Linked DNA regions of Homo sapiens: regions 2, 3 and 4 are each linked to region 1. Evidence: promoter capture Hi-C in 16 types of primary human blood cells and fetal thymus (Javierre and others, 2016). All regions are on one chromosome and are shown on one strand. The core of a region is centred on a gene start or on the middle of the fragment in contact, and the rest is flanking DNA. Distances in the headings are between cores, read along the strand shown.

Region 1 (3,687 bases), core at 606-3,105:
AAGAGCCTCTCCTATGGCAGCTGGGACGTTTTAAAATTGGGACACCAATTTCAAATGTAACCCTCCAGTGGTGGAAGGCACACCATGGCTTCCTCTGCTTGGTTTGAGGGTCTGTTCAAAAGCTTTGGGCCAATTAGGGAGTAAAAGGAGGGAAGGGGCCTATCCATTCCATTGTGGAAGCTGGGCCAGGTGCCAGGGACACTCTCCTTCAGGGAAAATGTTATGTGGAGGAGGACGAATAAATTTATTTTGTTTTCCTGTTTTTCTCATTTCTTGACCCGCTATACTCCCTGGTCAGATGGGTACTGCTGGTAGTTCCCAGACTTTGATATTCAGGTTAGAAAATGCCATCAAGTCCTACTGATCTGTGGCATGTGCACACACACACACACACACACACACTCTTTATGTATAAATATCATGCAGGTGCTACCTGCCAGCATAATATACACTTAGGGCAAATTTCATTGTACTTCAAATTATCTTCTTGGTAATTTTTAATAGATTTTGCTAACTCCTTGGTAACTTTTATTACAAGGTAAAACAAAACTGATGAAAGTGGCTGACATACCGGGGACGTGAGCAGAACGGCTTGGCCACTTCCTTAACATGGCCCCGGGTTCACCCGCTAGTCCGGAACTACAGTTTCTCTGCCACAGTGTCTGCGCCTGTCCACTTGCAGGCATTAATTTTGGTGAATATGAAGAGAGTTAATATAACCAGTGTGTCCTCTTCTCCATGGCAGCGCCCAGGGACAGACCTGCAGTGACCACCACCTGCCCCTCTCTGCCAGGCCCAACCACGGGCTTTCTTCTCAGAGCTGAGCTGATGTGGCCGTCTGGCTGACTAGGAGGGGCCCGGGGTCAGCCTGGAGGGGGGGTATTTGTAAAGCTTAATTTCTCTTTTTTTTTTTTTTTAGGTAAAATCACAGTTTATCCCTGCACCTTCATAGATTATGTTGCTCGTCTTAGAGACCACCAGGCAGCGAATGGAGTCAAGCCCTTGCGCTCTCCGAGAGTCCTGCCCTGACTACAGGACTAGTTTCTCCCATTCTTTCCTTCTCCAGGATAAAGTTCCTCATTCCTGTCTTTTAGTGAGCAGTATGGTTTAGGTGGACAGAGATTCCTTTGGTGCAGTTTTTTTCAAGGAGGTGATGTTATTTTTTCCTTCCCAGGTCTTGAGGGGACATTCAAAGCAGGCAGAGAGGGGTTGGGATGGCTCCAGATGGCTGGGAGGGAGAACACCAGCTGGTCACGCAGCCCCTCGTGCCAGTGCGCATCAGGTACAGTGTGGAGGCGGGAAAGGGACAAAAAGACGGCAGTCTCTTCCCTGAGCCTATGCCAACCCAGCCTTAAAGCCAGTGGATCGAATCAAGCCATTTGTGGCATTATCTATTGCTGCGTACGAACTTAGCCTGGCACAATGCCTGTAATCCCAGCTACTCGGGAAGTTGAGGCAGGAGAATCGCTTGAGCCTGGGAGGCAGAGGTTGCAGTGAGCCGAGATGGTGTCACTGCACTCCAGCCTGGGTGACAGAGCAAGGCCTTGTCTCAAAAAGAAAAAAAAAAAAAAAAAAGAATTATACACCACTCAGTTTTAGGAGGGGCAGAACACGGGGAGAGCCCTACAGGATCAGAGGGGCAACCAACAAGCTGTTTCAGAAGGCATGGGGCAGCTCAGCAACCATAAGTTATGCGTGGGCTTTGCTCTCGGGAGAGAGGTTTCCTGCAGCCGAAGGACTCACAGCTAATCTGGGTCAGGAGCGGCTGCCGGCTCCCCCACTCCTGGAGATGAGCGACTCTGTGACGTCACGGGAGGCGCGGGCGGAGCGCCGGGGAAGCGAAGTAGGCAGGGGCGAGGCGGCTGGGGACCGCGGGGCGGACGGGAGCGAGTATGTCCGCTCTGACTCGGCTGGCGTCTTTCGCTCGCGTTGGAGGCCGCCTTTTCAGAAGCGGCTGCGCACGGACTGCTGGAGATGGTGGAGTCCGTCAGTGAGTGTGGGGCTGGGGATGGGGGCCTCGCCGGCCTGTAGCGGACAGCGCGGGTCCCTGGGACGCTCTCACCTTGACTGGGGCGCCTGAAGAGGCCGCGTCCCGAGGCATGCTGGGACCTGTAGTCCGCGTGTCTCCTGAAGCCGCGACTCGAGGAGAGGGACCCCGCTGGCCGGAGGGAGAGGGAGAGACTTCGCTGGGCAGATGGGACACCGTGTGCAGGGCCGTCATGGTAGTAGGGGCCGCCTGCCCTCGGGAGACGCACGCGTGAATGCGGAGCGGGCTGAGCCAGTCGGCGCCGGCGCGGGCGGTCCAGGCGGAGGAAGCAGCGTGCGCGGCGGGTGTGGACGCTCCTGGAGCGAGGCGGGGGGCGGCGGCGGTGAGGCCTAGGGAGGGCGCGGTCCAGGGTCCCGGTGCCTGGCTGCGGAATTTAGGGTAGAGTCTGTTCGGCAGCCTTTAATCGGAGACGTCACGTGGCCGCTTTTTAATGCTGAAAAATCACTCTGGCTGCAGGGAGTGGAGGCTGTCGCCCAGAGAGAGCGCCGTCGGGTGAGAGGAGCAGAAAGCCGGAAGCCAACGCTGGGGCAGCCGTGGCGTTTAGGAGAGTGACAGGCAGAGCCGCCCGCGAGGTGGCCCGAGACGCAGACCGGAGGGCGGAGGGCTGGGGGTGCGAGGTAGGGAGCGGGTGCGAGGTAGGGAGCAGCTGCCGAAGCCGAGTTAGTGGTGTGCAGAGATTCCGTAAGAGCAGGACTGGAAAAGAGTCATGGATGATTCCAGGTCCCTTAGATCATCAGCTACACTTTACCAAGAGGCAGTGTGGGGTCGTGATTCCAAGCGGGATTCTGGCCGCACAGTGGCTGGGTTCAAATCCCACCTCTGCCACACTCCAGCTGTGGGACCTTGGAAAAGTTTCTTATTCTCTTAATGCCTCAGTTTCCTCACCCATTTGGCGTCCATTTGCAAGGAACTAAATGAGTTACTGTTATCTAAAGCGTGTTTGTGTGTTTTAGGAGATGGGGTCTAACTCTGTCAGGCAGGCTGGAGTGCAGTGGCGCGATCCTAGCTCACTGCAGCCTCTAACTCCTGGGCTCAAGTGATTCTCCAGCCTCGGCCTCCCAAAGTGTTGGGAATACAGGCGAGCCACTGCGCTTGGTCTCACTAAAGTGTTTAAAACAATTGCTGGTGCCTGCTAAGGACCGTACAAGTATTCTTTAACTGTTGTTGTTATTAAGGAACTGAGGCCCAGGAAATGAAAGGAGTGACTTGCCTGAAGTCCCACATGGATGAAGAATCTGGAGCTGGGGCAGGTGTGGGGTGGGCAGAAGGCAAAGCCCTGTGTGACTTGGGCAAAGACAGTGATGGAGAGCCATGAGCGACAGCCCTTGGTCCTGCATGAGGAGATGGGGGAATGCCGATCTTCCCTGAGGTGCTGGCTTGTTCGTAACACACACTTGTTTCAGAGTGTGTGATAATTAAGTGCATAAATGTTTATGGAGCATCTTCTATATGGCTGCTCCTTTCTAGGTGCTGAGGATATAGCAGAATACGAGAGAGAATGAAGTGTACATTCTGGAGAGGAGAGACCAGTAGAAAAGAAAGACCTTTTTTGAGTACTGTTAAGGGTTATGAAGAGAATACAGCTGGGGATTAATATGGAGAATGCGTGGTGTGGGAGTAGAAGGGATATTGTATTTGGG
Region 2 (3,926 bases), core at 498-2,997, 950 kb after region 1:
AGAGCAAGAAGTTGAACACAGTGAGCCTGATGCTTGCCCGAGGTGACTGCTGGAGAGAGGCCACAGCCTGCGGAGAGGGAGCCCACACAGAGCCCATGCCCTACCTCAGTTGAGGGGTCTTTGAGAATTTGAGAAATCAAGGCAGCTAGAATTGCAAGGCAGGATACAAGAGAGCCCCATGGAGAGGAGAGCCGCACCCAGAACCAAGCTAGAGGTTTACGGAGGTGTCCTCTGGAATCTTCAGCTGAGTACTGACAGGTGCATGCATGTGAGAAACCACCACCCGAGATAGAGGTTGAGTTACCTACCAGTGAGCAGGCGGGACAGTCTCAGGAGAGTCAGTCCTCTCACAAAGCCAGGAATAGTTCGTGTTCAAACCAATTAGAGTAGAAAATCCTCTTCAGACATGGGGCATTGGGTAGTGTCCTCAGAAAGGTATTGCCTCAGTAGTGAGTCAAAATTAATTCTAGACTAAAGGCTGCCCTCTTCCCTGTTAACAAAGCTAAAGGCTCACCTCCAAAGAACCACAGTTTCTTTCTAGGTAACTTAATTGTGCCTCCAGAACAAAGCTTTAGAACAGGGGTCAGCAAAGGACAGCCCACAGGCCCGACTATCCTGCTGCCTGTATTTGTACAGCCTTGAAGCTAACAATATTTTTTACATTTTTAAATCATTGAAAAAAATCAAAAGAAGAGTATTTTTCCCCGTTACGTGTGGAAATTGTCTTCAAATTTCAGTGTCTTTAAGTCAAATTTTACTGGAACACAGGCAGGCTAATTCATTTGAGTATATTCTCTGGTTGCTTTCAGCTACTATGGCTGAGTTGAATAGCTGTGAGAGAGACCTCATGGTCTGCAAGCCTACAGTGTTCACTCTCTGGCTCTTTACAGAAAATGTTTCCCGACCCTGTTCTAGCTGAAGTGTGGCTCTCCCCTGAGTTTTGCCTTTCCCACAGTCTTTAAGCAGTGGCTGTGCTTTCTTTCTTTTCCTCCCCTTGTATGCTGGGCCTGGTGACTTGGTGGTTGTCCTCCTGACTCATCACTGCTTTAACCCATTCTTCCTCCTCCTCTCTAACTACCCCCCCACCCAGCCCCACCTCTCAATGTCCTATTGTCAGAGCAGATCATTGCTCCTGGGAGCTCCTGAACCCTGGGCCGTTCTTACACATTTATCTATAATGTTAATTCCTAGCCCACTGTCTCCCTCTCCAATCTACTCCTGTCTTAATTCTCAACACGGCAGCCAGAGTGATCCTATTGAAATGAAGCCAGAACATATTTCCCTCCTTAGAACCCTCCAGTGGCTCTCTGATTCATTCAGCCTAAAAGCCAGCTTCCTCGCCATGGTCTATGAGGCTCTGCTGATGTAGCTCCTCTCTTCCCTGTCTTCCTCACTTGTTGCCCCTGTCATTCGCTCTGCTCCAGCTACACGGGCTTCCTTGCTGTTCCCTGCTGTCAGACATGTTCCCCCAGCACCACCTGAAGGCCTCCGCCCCAGTAGTTCCCCTTGTGTGGATTGCTCATCCCCGGATTAGGGGTTCTCAAAGTCCAGTTCTCAGATCAGCACATCAGTATCACATGGAAGTTGCTCGAGATGAAAATTCATGGGCCTCACCCCAGATCTACTGAACCAGAAACTTGGGATGGGGCCAGAGTCTGAGTTAAAAAAAAATTATTTTTATTGATTGATTGATTGAGACGGAGTTTGACTCTTGTCACCCAGGCTGGAGTGCAATCGTGCGATATTGGCTCACTGCAATCTCTGCCTCCTGGGTTCTAGCGATTCTCCCGCCTCAGCCTCCCGAGTAGCTGGGATTACAGGCGCCCGCCACCACACCCGGCTAGTATTTGTACTTTTAGTAGAGACGGGGTTTCACCACGTTGGCCGGGCTGGTCTCGAACTCCTGACCTCGGCTGATCCGCCCGCCTCGGCCTCCCAAAGTGCTGAGATCACAGGCGTGAGCCACCGCGCCTGGCCAAAAATTATTTATTTTTTAGTTGACAAACAAAAACCAGAGTCTGAATGTTACCTGCTCTACAGTGGCACCTGCTAAAGTTTGAGAACCACTGCCCTGGGTGGCCACATCGCCGGCTCCCTCACCTCCTTCAGGCCTCCTCTCCAAGGCTTCTCCACGGGACCCCCTTTTTCATAACACAGCCACTGCCATCAGCGCCACCTCATGTTCCTTGCTCTGCTTCTTTGATCTTATTTTCTAATAAACTCTAATATAGTTGTGGCATCCTTATCTTCTAACAGAGTTTATAATTTACTATGATCCATCTATTCCCTCCAGTCTCTACAGTAGAAAGTAAGTTCTTTGTAGGCAGAAAGTCATGTGGGTTTTGTTCATTGGTGTAACCCAAGCTCCGTGGGTTCATGGTGCATGACTGGCACTCAGTAAGTAGTTAAATAAAAGGTGAACTTTCAAAGTCATCCACTTTATGTTTTGTAATTCTTAGTTGAGAGTTCTTTGTTAGTTACCCTTTAATCTTAGGCAAAGGCTTTAAGGCTCTCAGAGGCCTCAAATCCTGGGCCTGAACATTTTGAACCTACCCCAAAAGAAACAAGACCTCTATTTGAAGCTGACATAGAAGTTGTGGGATTGATTTACAGAGGGCTAGGTTTGTATGGCTAGTCACTGACTGGTAGCAAATTATGGGAACTGGTCCAAGAACCAAGTCTGTTTTGATAGCCATTTTGTCGTAGCTCAAATCATCCAGAGCTTTCTGTGGCTGGAAATGGAAAGTTTTTAAACATTACCATAGAATAAACGGATTGCTGTTTTCCAACTCTGGTTGCACACCAAATTTGTATGTAGAGCATTAAAGAAGCACAGGCACTTGGGCTCTCCACACCAAGCAGCCGATTCCATGCTGTCATGTGAAGCTCATGTACAGTGAACACTGAGATTGCTGGGATGGGCTGAAAGCTTGGCCTGCAAGGGAAGTAATCCTAGAGACTAGAACGGCTAATAATTACTAGTGAGTGACAGAACGTCCAGAACCTCCCACTCTGAGTTTTGTTTGCTTATGTAGTAAAAAAAAAAGCCAAGCAATGGAGATGAATTTTCTATAAATTATACCTCAGTAAAGCTCTTTGTGAAAAAAAAAAAAAAAAAGATTGAAAATAGGTTTGGAATTAAATCACTACAAGTAGAGTCCCCTATCTATATATAGCTTCAAACTATGAACCATCAAAGCTGAGGATGACAACAGGCTGCATTAGCCAAATTTTAAGAGTAATGACGTTAGTGTTCTTAACCTTTTTAGAGCAAAGAAGATTTTCTGAATATCTGCATTGAACCTGACACCATCAGCAAAGGAGACTTTATAACTATAGGGTAAGTGGACTGGGGTTCACAGGAAATGAGGCTTGTGATTTTCTCAGATTTTACTATTCAGAGTGCCCCATGAAGTCTAAGACAGAAATCCAGCCAAAGCCTTGTCTTGTTTGGGAATTTCGATGTTATTTCTTTCCTATGGGCTGACATGTAGAGTGCCCCTCTCCTATGCTGGCCATCACTGTTCATTTTGTGGGGATCAGAATGTAAGAGCAGTCTTTGTTTTTCAATTGAAACCAAAGAATTCAATGGAGCATGACACAGCGTCAAGAACTTTGGTTTCAGGGTCAAAGAGCTGAATGCAAATTTTGATTCTGCCACTTACCCGACGTCATGACTCGGATCATTTAGCATCTCTGAATTCTTTCCGTCTACAGAATGAAATAATCATCTCTGCCGATCTCAGGACTGGCTTTCAGCCTTGAGTAAGAGAATGTGTGTCAAGCCTTTTTATATTTTGAAGCACTTCACAGTATCCATTACTATTTATGTCAGTTCACCATGTCCTCCTATTCCCAGGGCCTTCATGAAAAACTGGAAAAGGTATTGAGTACCTTGGACATTTCCCAGGCCTTTTTCCCTTTTC
Region 3 (4,008 bases), core at 1,142-3,641, 840 kb after region 1:
AGAATCGCTTGAACCCAGGAGGTGGAGGTTGCAGTGAGCCGAGATTGCGCCATTAGTGAAACTCCATCTCAAAAAAAAAAAAATGTATATCTATATTCTAGTAATCAACAATTGGAAATGGAAATTTAAACAATACCATGTATAACAGTACTAAACAGTGGAAAACACTGAAATATATTTAACAAAATATGGTGCAAGACATGTACACTTAAACTTAAGAAACATTACTAAGAAAAATGAAATAATACCCAAATAAATGGAGATAAATACCATATTTATAAATCGGAAGACTCAATTTTATAAAATGATTAAATCTTAAATTGGTCTATAAATTCAACATAATCTGGATCACAAGCACAGTTTTATTTTTTGTAGACAAAAAATAAATTGACAAGATGATTCTAAACTCTGTATAGAAATTCGAAGGACTTAGAATAGCCAAAATATTTTGAGAAAAGAGAACAAAATTGAGGACTTAAACTAGCCAATTTCAAGACTTACTAAAGAGCCTTATTAATCACGATAGCATGGTATTGGCATAAAGATGGACATACAGATCAATAAAACAGAGTAAAGAATCCAGAAAAACTCCATACATACATGGTTCAATGATTTGCCAAGGTAAGTCAGTGGAAGAAAGGATGGCATTTTAAGAAATAATGTTGGGCCAGGCACCATGGCTCATGCCTGTAATCCCAGCACTTTGGGAGGACAAGGCGGGTGGACCACCTGAGGTCGGGAGTTTGAGACCAGCCTGGCCAACATAGTGAAACCCCATCTCTACTAAAAATACAAAATTAGCTGGGCATGGTGGCATGTGCCTGTAATCCCAGTTACTCAGGAGGCTGAGGCAGGAGAATCGCTTGAATACTGGAGGCAGAGATAGCAGTGAGCCGAGATCGCACCATTGCACTCTAGCCTGGGCGACAAGAGAGAAACTCCATTTCAAAAAGAAAAAAAAAAAAAAAAAGGAAGAAAAGAAAGAAAAGAAAAGAAAAGAAAAGAAATAACATTGGAACAACTGAAGAGAGGCATATGGGAAAAAGAACCTCAACCCCTACCTCACACAGTTCACAAATATTAACTTAAAATAGGTAATAGACCTAACCAAAAAATAAAAATAAAAATTATAAAACTTCTGCAAGAAAAAAAAAATCGGAGAAATCGGAATGATATTGCATTAAGCAAAAAACTCTTAAATGGGCCCTACAAATATGAACTATAAAAGAAAAAAAATCAATAAATTGTACTTCACCAAATGTAAAGCTTTTGCTTTTCAAAAAGCACTGTTATAAAAATAAAGCACAACATAGACTGGAAGAAAATATTTGCAAAATATATCTGAAAGGGATTTGTATCTAAAATATATAAAGAACTTTAACAATTCAATAAGAAGAATTTTTTAAATGGGCAAAACATTTCAACAGATGCTTTGTCAATATCTTCCACAGATGATTAGATATATTAGGATGTCTTCAGTTTTAAAACTAACATACCAAGTGCTGGTGAGGATGTGGAGCCATTGGAAGTCTCATATCCTGCTTCCAGGAATGTAAAGGAGTGCAACCAGTTTGGAAACTAGTTTGACAGTGTCTTAAGAAATTAAACACACTTACATAAAACCCAGCCATCACTTTCCTATGTATTTACCCAAAAGAAATAAAAACATAAACATATATCACAAAAAGACTTGTATACAAATGTTGAATGCACCTTTGTTTATAATGGCAAAAAGCCTGAAACAACCTAAATGTCTGTCAACAGGTGAATGAATGAAAAAAATTGCAGTAAACCCATGCAATGGGCTACTAGTCATCAATAAGAGCAAACTACTGAAGCACACAATGGATAAATCTTAAAAAAAAAAAAAACCGTGTTGAGAGAAAAGCCAGAAACAAAAGGTTCTATATTGTACAATTCCATTTATGTAAAACTCTAAAAGATACAAATTAACATACAGTGGTAGAAAGAAGATTAGTGATTGGCTGGTGTTGGGGTGGACTGAGGGAATGTAGGAACTGACTGGAAAAGAATAAGAGAACACTTGGGTGGCAATGGAAATGTCTGTATCTTCATTGTGGCCAGTATAGGAACATACGCATTTATCAAAAGTCATCAATCTGCACACTAAAAATGGGTGCATTTCGTTGTATGTAAATGTTATGCCAATAAGATTTATTTTAAAAATTGTAGTGGGAATGCAAGGAGAAGAAAGGGGGTAATTTTGGTATATTTCTATGTTAGAGTGGGCAGATTTTGAGTAGGTTTATATGCTAAGAGGAAAAGACAGTGGAGATGGAGGGAGAAAATACCAGAGTGAGGAAAGGACTGATGAGGCAGATTTCTCGGGGACGGGAAGATGGGGGTGCCATCCCAAGCACGGGTGGATGGATGAGCTGTGGATGGGAGGAGTGAACATAAGCTCCCTGAGTCTGCAGCAGAGGAAAGTGGTTGTACTATTAAGTTTGAACAAAGACAAATGTAATTTTGTATGTGGGAGGGCAGAAAGCAAAGGAAGTTCATGGCTCATTCAATCATTCAACCTTTATTTATTTTATGCCAGGCACTTTATAAATAAAGATATGGATATTCTGTAAGAAAGAATAATACTGTTTCTGCTCTCATATAATTTAGAATACAGTAGATGGGGGGCATTAAACAATTAAAGAACTAAATACATAATTACAGATTATTATGAATGCCATACAGGTTAAGGAATCTATTAAAGAGGGCAACAGAAGGAACCTAATTTAAACAGATGGCTCAGGGAAGGTCTCTTGAGTGAAGCCACCTTTCAGCTGAGAGGAGGAAGGTGAGAAGGAGTTAGGTGATAAGTGAATGGAATGGCTTCAGTGAAGACCTTAAGGTTGGACAGATTTGGGTACATTTTGATACAGAACAATAATTATATGTGAGTTTTAAGAGATTAATATAAAAAATGAAACCATAGAAAACTCCAAGAAAATATAAATAAATTTTGATCACTAGATAGAGGACTCTCCAAGAATATGCCTGAGATTTAACTACATAAAATTCAAGAGGTTTTTTTCTTTACTTTTATTTCGAAACATATTGTAAACCAAGTGCTAAATATTTGCAACAAATAAGTCAAAGGATTACCATCCTTACTACATAAAGAGCATGTATCAAACTGACAAGAAAAGCATTAAAACATCAACAGAATCCAGTTAGTAGATCATCCTTCTAAAATGATTGATCCTTTAGTCATTTAGGTAAGTTTATAGAATTTTAAAAATAAAAATAAACATAAAAAGCAAGTTGGGAAAATAGAATAAAAATACAAGTAAAAGACAGGCAAATTTCTATGGAAGAGGAAAATGGCTGGATAGATGAAAAAATAGTTTTACTCATAACCAAAGAAATTTAAACTGAAAAAATGAAATACTATTTTCCCAGCAATTAAATAAGTAGACATTGGGCAAAACAATACTTATTGATGGCAAGGGTGCTATGAGAGGCACTATCCAGTGAAGATAGTGGGAACATAAATTGGTTATAAGCTTTTAATTAAAAAATTTGGAAAAATGCATCTGGAACCTCAAATATATTTCCTCTGATTCATTAATTCTAGTTTTAAAAACTAACCCTACATTTATAATAAATGACGTCAATTATTTAAATTTTTTAAGTTAAAATCTTAATGGGTAGTCATTCAACAGTAAAGGAATAGACCAGGTGAGATGACTCACTCCTGTAATCCCAGGACTTTGGGAGGCTGAGGCGGGCAGATCAGTTGAGGTCAGGAGTTCGAGACCAGCCTGGCCAACATGGTGAAACACTGCCTCTACTAAAAAAATACAAAAATTAGCCAGACGTGGTGGCACGTCCCTGTAATCCTAGCTACTGGAGAGGCTGAGGCAGGAGAATCACTTGAACCTGGGAGGTGGAGGTTGCAGTGAGCTGAGATCGTGCCAGCCCCACTGCACTCCAGCCTGGGCAGCAGAGTGAGACTCCATTTCCAAAACAAAAACAAAACAGTGAAGGAAT
Region 4 (3,741 bases), core at 103-2,602, 900 kb after region 1:
AGGTGAAGAATCCCTGCGTGCTTCTGGGAAAGTCTGAAACTCTCCAGCATCCTTTCTTTTTTTCTTTTAAAAGCTTTCACTATTTAATTGCACTATTTTTGTCATCATAGCTCTGTCCTGACACATAATTTATAATTTATCATGTAGCTATTTCATTATGTAGTACTGGTTTAAAACTACATAAGAGCTTTAAGAAATAAGATAACTGTGTGTTTAGCATTAATAAATAATACATAAAAGAGTAATTATTTTTTGTATGTGCCTGAGTCTGGAAATTGCTAAAAGTACCTAAGGTTTTTATTTAGCCTCGGTGTTATCTCACCCTTAATTATGTAATAAATAATTTATTTCTTATTAGTAACACTTGTTTTTCAATCTTTTATATAGAAAATTAGAAGGAAAAAAGTCTTCACCTTCATTTTAGAGGTTTTCTGAACTTATAACATCATATAAAGATGTGAATAAAGACCCAAATATTCTAACCTGATTTCTTAAACTAACTCAGAGGAGGTTACAGATTTGTTGTGATTGATATGGCAGATTGAGACTTCTTCAGAATTTTGCTTTTAGGAAATAGATCTGATCCACTTCCAACTGATCCTTTCCTATCAATCTAGTAATGAAAGCAACCCTGGAAGGAGAATTGTTTGCAGTACCACTAGCTCAGTGCTTTAATGTTGGGTTAAGCCCCCAGAAATGGTGAGCTGGAAAGGAGAAATTATCATTTACCCTTTTATGTTCATTCTAATAATCATTCAGAGCAGTAGAAAGGTAGAAAATATTTAATTTGCTTATAATACACTCAGGCCCTTGGTTTGAGATATTCTTTTGGATGGTTCTTGTGAAAATTTGTGCAAGCCTCTCAATTTCTATTTTAATTCACAATAAGAAGTGATTTGTGTTCTATATGCCATTTGGTGGTTCTTTTTAGTTTAAAGAATATTGAGCTTGGCCTGTGCATAACTATACGTGTTCCTCATTAGCTGCCTTTGTAGCTGAATATAAAATGTCTCTTCTATAAAATATCCTTAAATTCTTGTATAAAGTATCCTTAAGGTCAAAGGATACAGCCTTAGTTTAAAAATAAGACAGAGGACTGAGTAAATGTGGATATAAAAGTTAGGTGTTTGACATTGATTGAAAGTACTGGATTTTTTTTTCCTTATGTAATAGTTGAAATATTTGAGTAAAAGGTCAACTAATTGGTATGTTTTAACATTAGTTTGACTTTGAGACTATGCCATTGGTGGAAGAGATTGTTTTGCAACTTCTGTGTCCCTGGATTCCTAGACTGTGTTTTTGAATTCTGACCTGAATTGGACAAGAGTTCACTGTCAGAATGATATGCATAATACTTTTGAAATATGCAAACTCTTTGAAGGCTGTTTTTTCTCTTCTTATAAGACATCGTGTTGTTTCCTTTTCCTCAGAATTTACATGTCTACATTTGGGGCAGGTTTATTCATTCGTTTGTGCATTAATTCATCAGATACTTAGTAAGTACTTTCTAATTGTGCCATACATAATCCTAGAGGTCAGGGGATTCAAGGATTAATAAGATTTGGTATTTATTTTTAGAACGCTTCCAGTCTAGTCCTGACAACAGTCTTGGAAGTCTCTAATCACCATACAGTATGAAAGTCACTAACAGAGATGTGTATAAGGTACTAGGGGAGCACAGAGAGGGCATGACTGTGCCTGGGAGTTTCAGACTAGCTTCTGGTGAATTAGTAGTTTGGTCTGCTTTGTTATGTTGTATTCCTAGCTCCTCCACCTGTGTCTATCACACAGTAGGTGCTCAATGAATACTTGAGTGAATCAAGCATTGTTGCCTGAATGGAACCATATCTAGTGTTCGTTCTTCCCCTAGAGGAACTACTTTGTGAACTATAAGCCTCCCAAATGGATAAGAGCTTATTGCATTAGATAAACAGCAAATTCTCAAAGGCCCCAGAGTTTAAGGTTCTATTTTTCCATTCATATTAACTCATTACTTGTTGTTAAACTTTCTGTGCTTGAACAAATAAAGGAAACCCGTATTGCATAGTCTTTCTTATTCTGCCCTGAAGAAGATTGTAAGGCTTTTTGTTCTTGCTCTTGATAACCTGTGTTAAAATGTTTATATTTTTTCCTTTGTTAACAGAAAAGCCAGGACTCTATTTGAAAAAAATGCTGCCCCGATTTTACATTTATCTGGCATGGATGTGACTATTGTTAAGGTAAGAATGGCTCCTGAATGTTTATTTCACCCAAGCAGCTGCCTCTTATAACAACCTCTTCTCTTGGCTTCTTAGCAAAAATTGCTTGTCACAAGAGCAAAGAAATTAATGTTGTATCCTGTTCTGACAATTAATAAATGTAGTTTTGTTTTTTTCCAAATAGTGTCAGCTTTTCATTTTCAGAATAGGATTGGATGGAGGCTTGGAGAACTTGACACCTTTCATCTGAGAGATAGGATGTGGAATTACATCTCTTGGAAGATGAAAGTTGTTATAGCTGTAAGAATTCTTTTCCTGAAAATACACAACCTTCAAGTCTGAGTAATTAATTTAATTTCTTAGTAGTTCCACAAACAGGTAAACCATTTTCTCTCTGGTAAGGAATTATCTTTGGTGAAGAATTTTAAATGGTAAAGCTTTAGAATTTGTGAGATTTAGTTAAGAAGAAAAGGAGGCAAGCATAAATTACAAGGAATTGTACTATTTCGAAGATGCAGGACTCTACTTGTTGAATTTTAAATGAGATATATGTGGGTAAGTACATACATGTGTATATAGTGAAAACCTCTCTTACTGTGGTTATAAGTCTGTTGACCAATTTCTAATATTGTACACTTCCAGGAAATCATAGAAGTTAAAAAGGATCATTTAGTCTAGTTTACCATGCAATGTTGAACCCTCTTTTCCAACTTTTCTGTCATGATTTTCCAGTTGTTTGCCCCCGGGGGTAGGAGAAAGGGGAAGAAAACTAACATATTTGAGTACCTGTAATGTGGCAGGTATGAGAGACCCAAGTATGGTTATGTGAGACTGATGTTTGTTTCTTCAATGATTGGTGAAACTCACAGCTAAAACCATCTGGATCTGGAGCTTTCCTTGAGGGGAGATTTTCTTGTGTGTGTGTGTGTGTGTGTGTGTGTGTGTGTGTGTGTATGTAGAGACAGGAGCTCACTATGTTGCCAAGGCTGGTCTTGAACTCCTGGACTCAAGTGATCCCCCCCACCTTGGCTTCCCAAAGTACTGGGATTATAGGTGTAAGCTACCATGCCCAGCCTTTTTTACCTTTTTTAAATTTTTAATGTACATTAAATTTCTTTAACAGTTCTAGAAGTACTCAGGTTTCATTCTTCACTTAATTTTTGTAAGGTAAATTCTTCAAGGAATTTGTTTCATCTAAATTTTCAAATTAATTGACATCAGGTTGTTCATAATATCTTCTATTTAACTTTTAAATTTCTATAGCATATGTAATGTCTCATTTTCATTCTCAATATTGTTTATTTGTACCCTCTCTTTTTCCCCTCAGTAATCTTGTGAGAGGTTTGTCAATTTAGCCCTTGCCAAGAACCGTTTTTTGGCTTATTGATCCTCTCATTTATATGTTTCATTCATTTCTGATCTTTTTTTATTGTTTCATTCATTCTACTTTTTAAAAAAATTTTTCTGCTGTGCTTTTTCTGACATTTTAACTTCATTGCTTATTTCATTTTTACCTTCCTTTCTTATTGTATGTATTTAAGCT

Evidence for each region. The method cuts DNA at HindIII sites, captures the fragments that hold promoters and counts their contacts. A CHiCAGO score of 5 or more calls a contact.
Region 2: a fragment that was not itself captured here is called in contact with the fragment with the promoter of NDUFB2 in region 1 in 2 of 17 cell types (endothelial precursors and megakaryocytes); the score reaches 5.2 in endothelial precursors.
Region 3: a contact is called between a fragment that was not itself captured here and the fragment with the promoter of NDUFB2 in region 1, in 1 of 17 cell types (endothelial precursors). The highest score is 6.3, in endothelial precursors.
Region 4: a fragment that was not itself captured here is called in contact with the fragment with the promoter of NDUFB2 in region 1 in 1 of 17 cell types (endothelial precursors); the score reaches 5.6 in endothelial precursors.

The regions. Positions count from the first base shown.
Region 1 is chr7:140,694,853-140,698,539 of GRCh38, forward strand. NDUFB2 (NADH:ubiquinone oxidoreductase subunit B2) reads left to right here and starts at 1,856. Exons shown (of 4, transcript NM_004546.3): 1 at 1,856-1,990. The coding sequence starts at 1,893. It overlaps NDUFB2-AS1 (NDUFB2 antisense RNA 1), which reads right to left and starts at 2,225. Exons shown (of 2, transcript NR_024454.1): 1 at 2,063-2,225; 2 at 484-1,968. ADCK2 (aarF domain containing kinase 2) reads left to right here. Exons shown (of 8, transcript NM_052853.4): 8 at 1-258. RefSeq lists an enhancer at 1,865-2,174. The HindIII fragment of the contact is 6,958 bases long and covers 890-3,687 here.
Region 2 is chr7:141,645,994-141,649,919 of GRCh38, forward strand. AGK (acylglycerol kinase) reads left to right here. Exons shown (of 16, transcript NM_018238.4): 14 at 3,270-3,340. Among named protein-coding and RNA genes, the nearest start is that of DENND11, 54 kb to the right of the region's middle. The HindIII fragment of the contact is 2,360 bases long and covers 568-2,927 here.
Region 3 is chr7:141,536,530-141,540,537 of GRCh38, forward strand. The region is part of intron 1 of AGK-DT (AGK divergent transcript); the gene reads right to left. Among named protein-coding and RNA genes, the nearest start is that of AGK-DT, 13 kb to the right of the region's middle. The HindIII fragment of the contact is 2,255 bases long and covers 1,265-3,519 here.
Region 4 is chr7:141,599,062-141,602,802 of GRCh38, forward strand. AGK (acylglycerol kinase) reads left to right here. Exons shown (of 16, transcript NM_018238.4): 5 at 2,144-2,219. Among named protein-coding and RNA genes, the nearest start is that of AGK, 50 kb to the left of the region's middle. The HindIII fragment of the contact is 2,562 bases long and covers 72-2,633 here.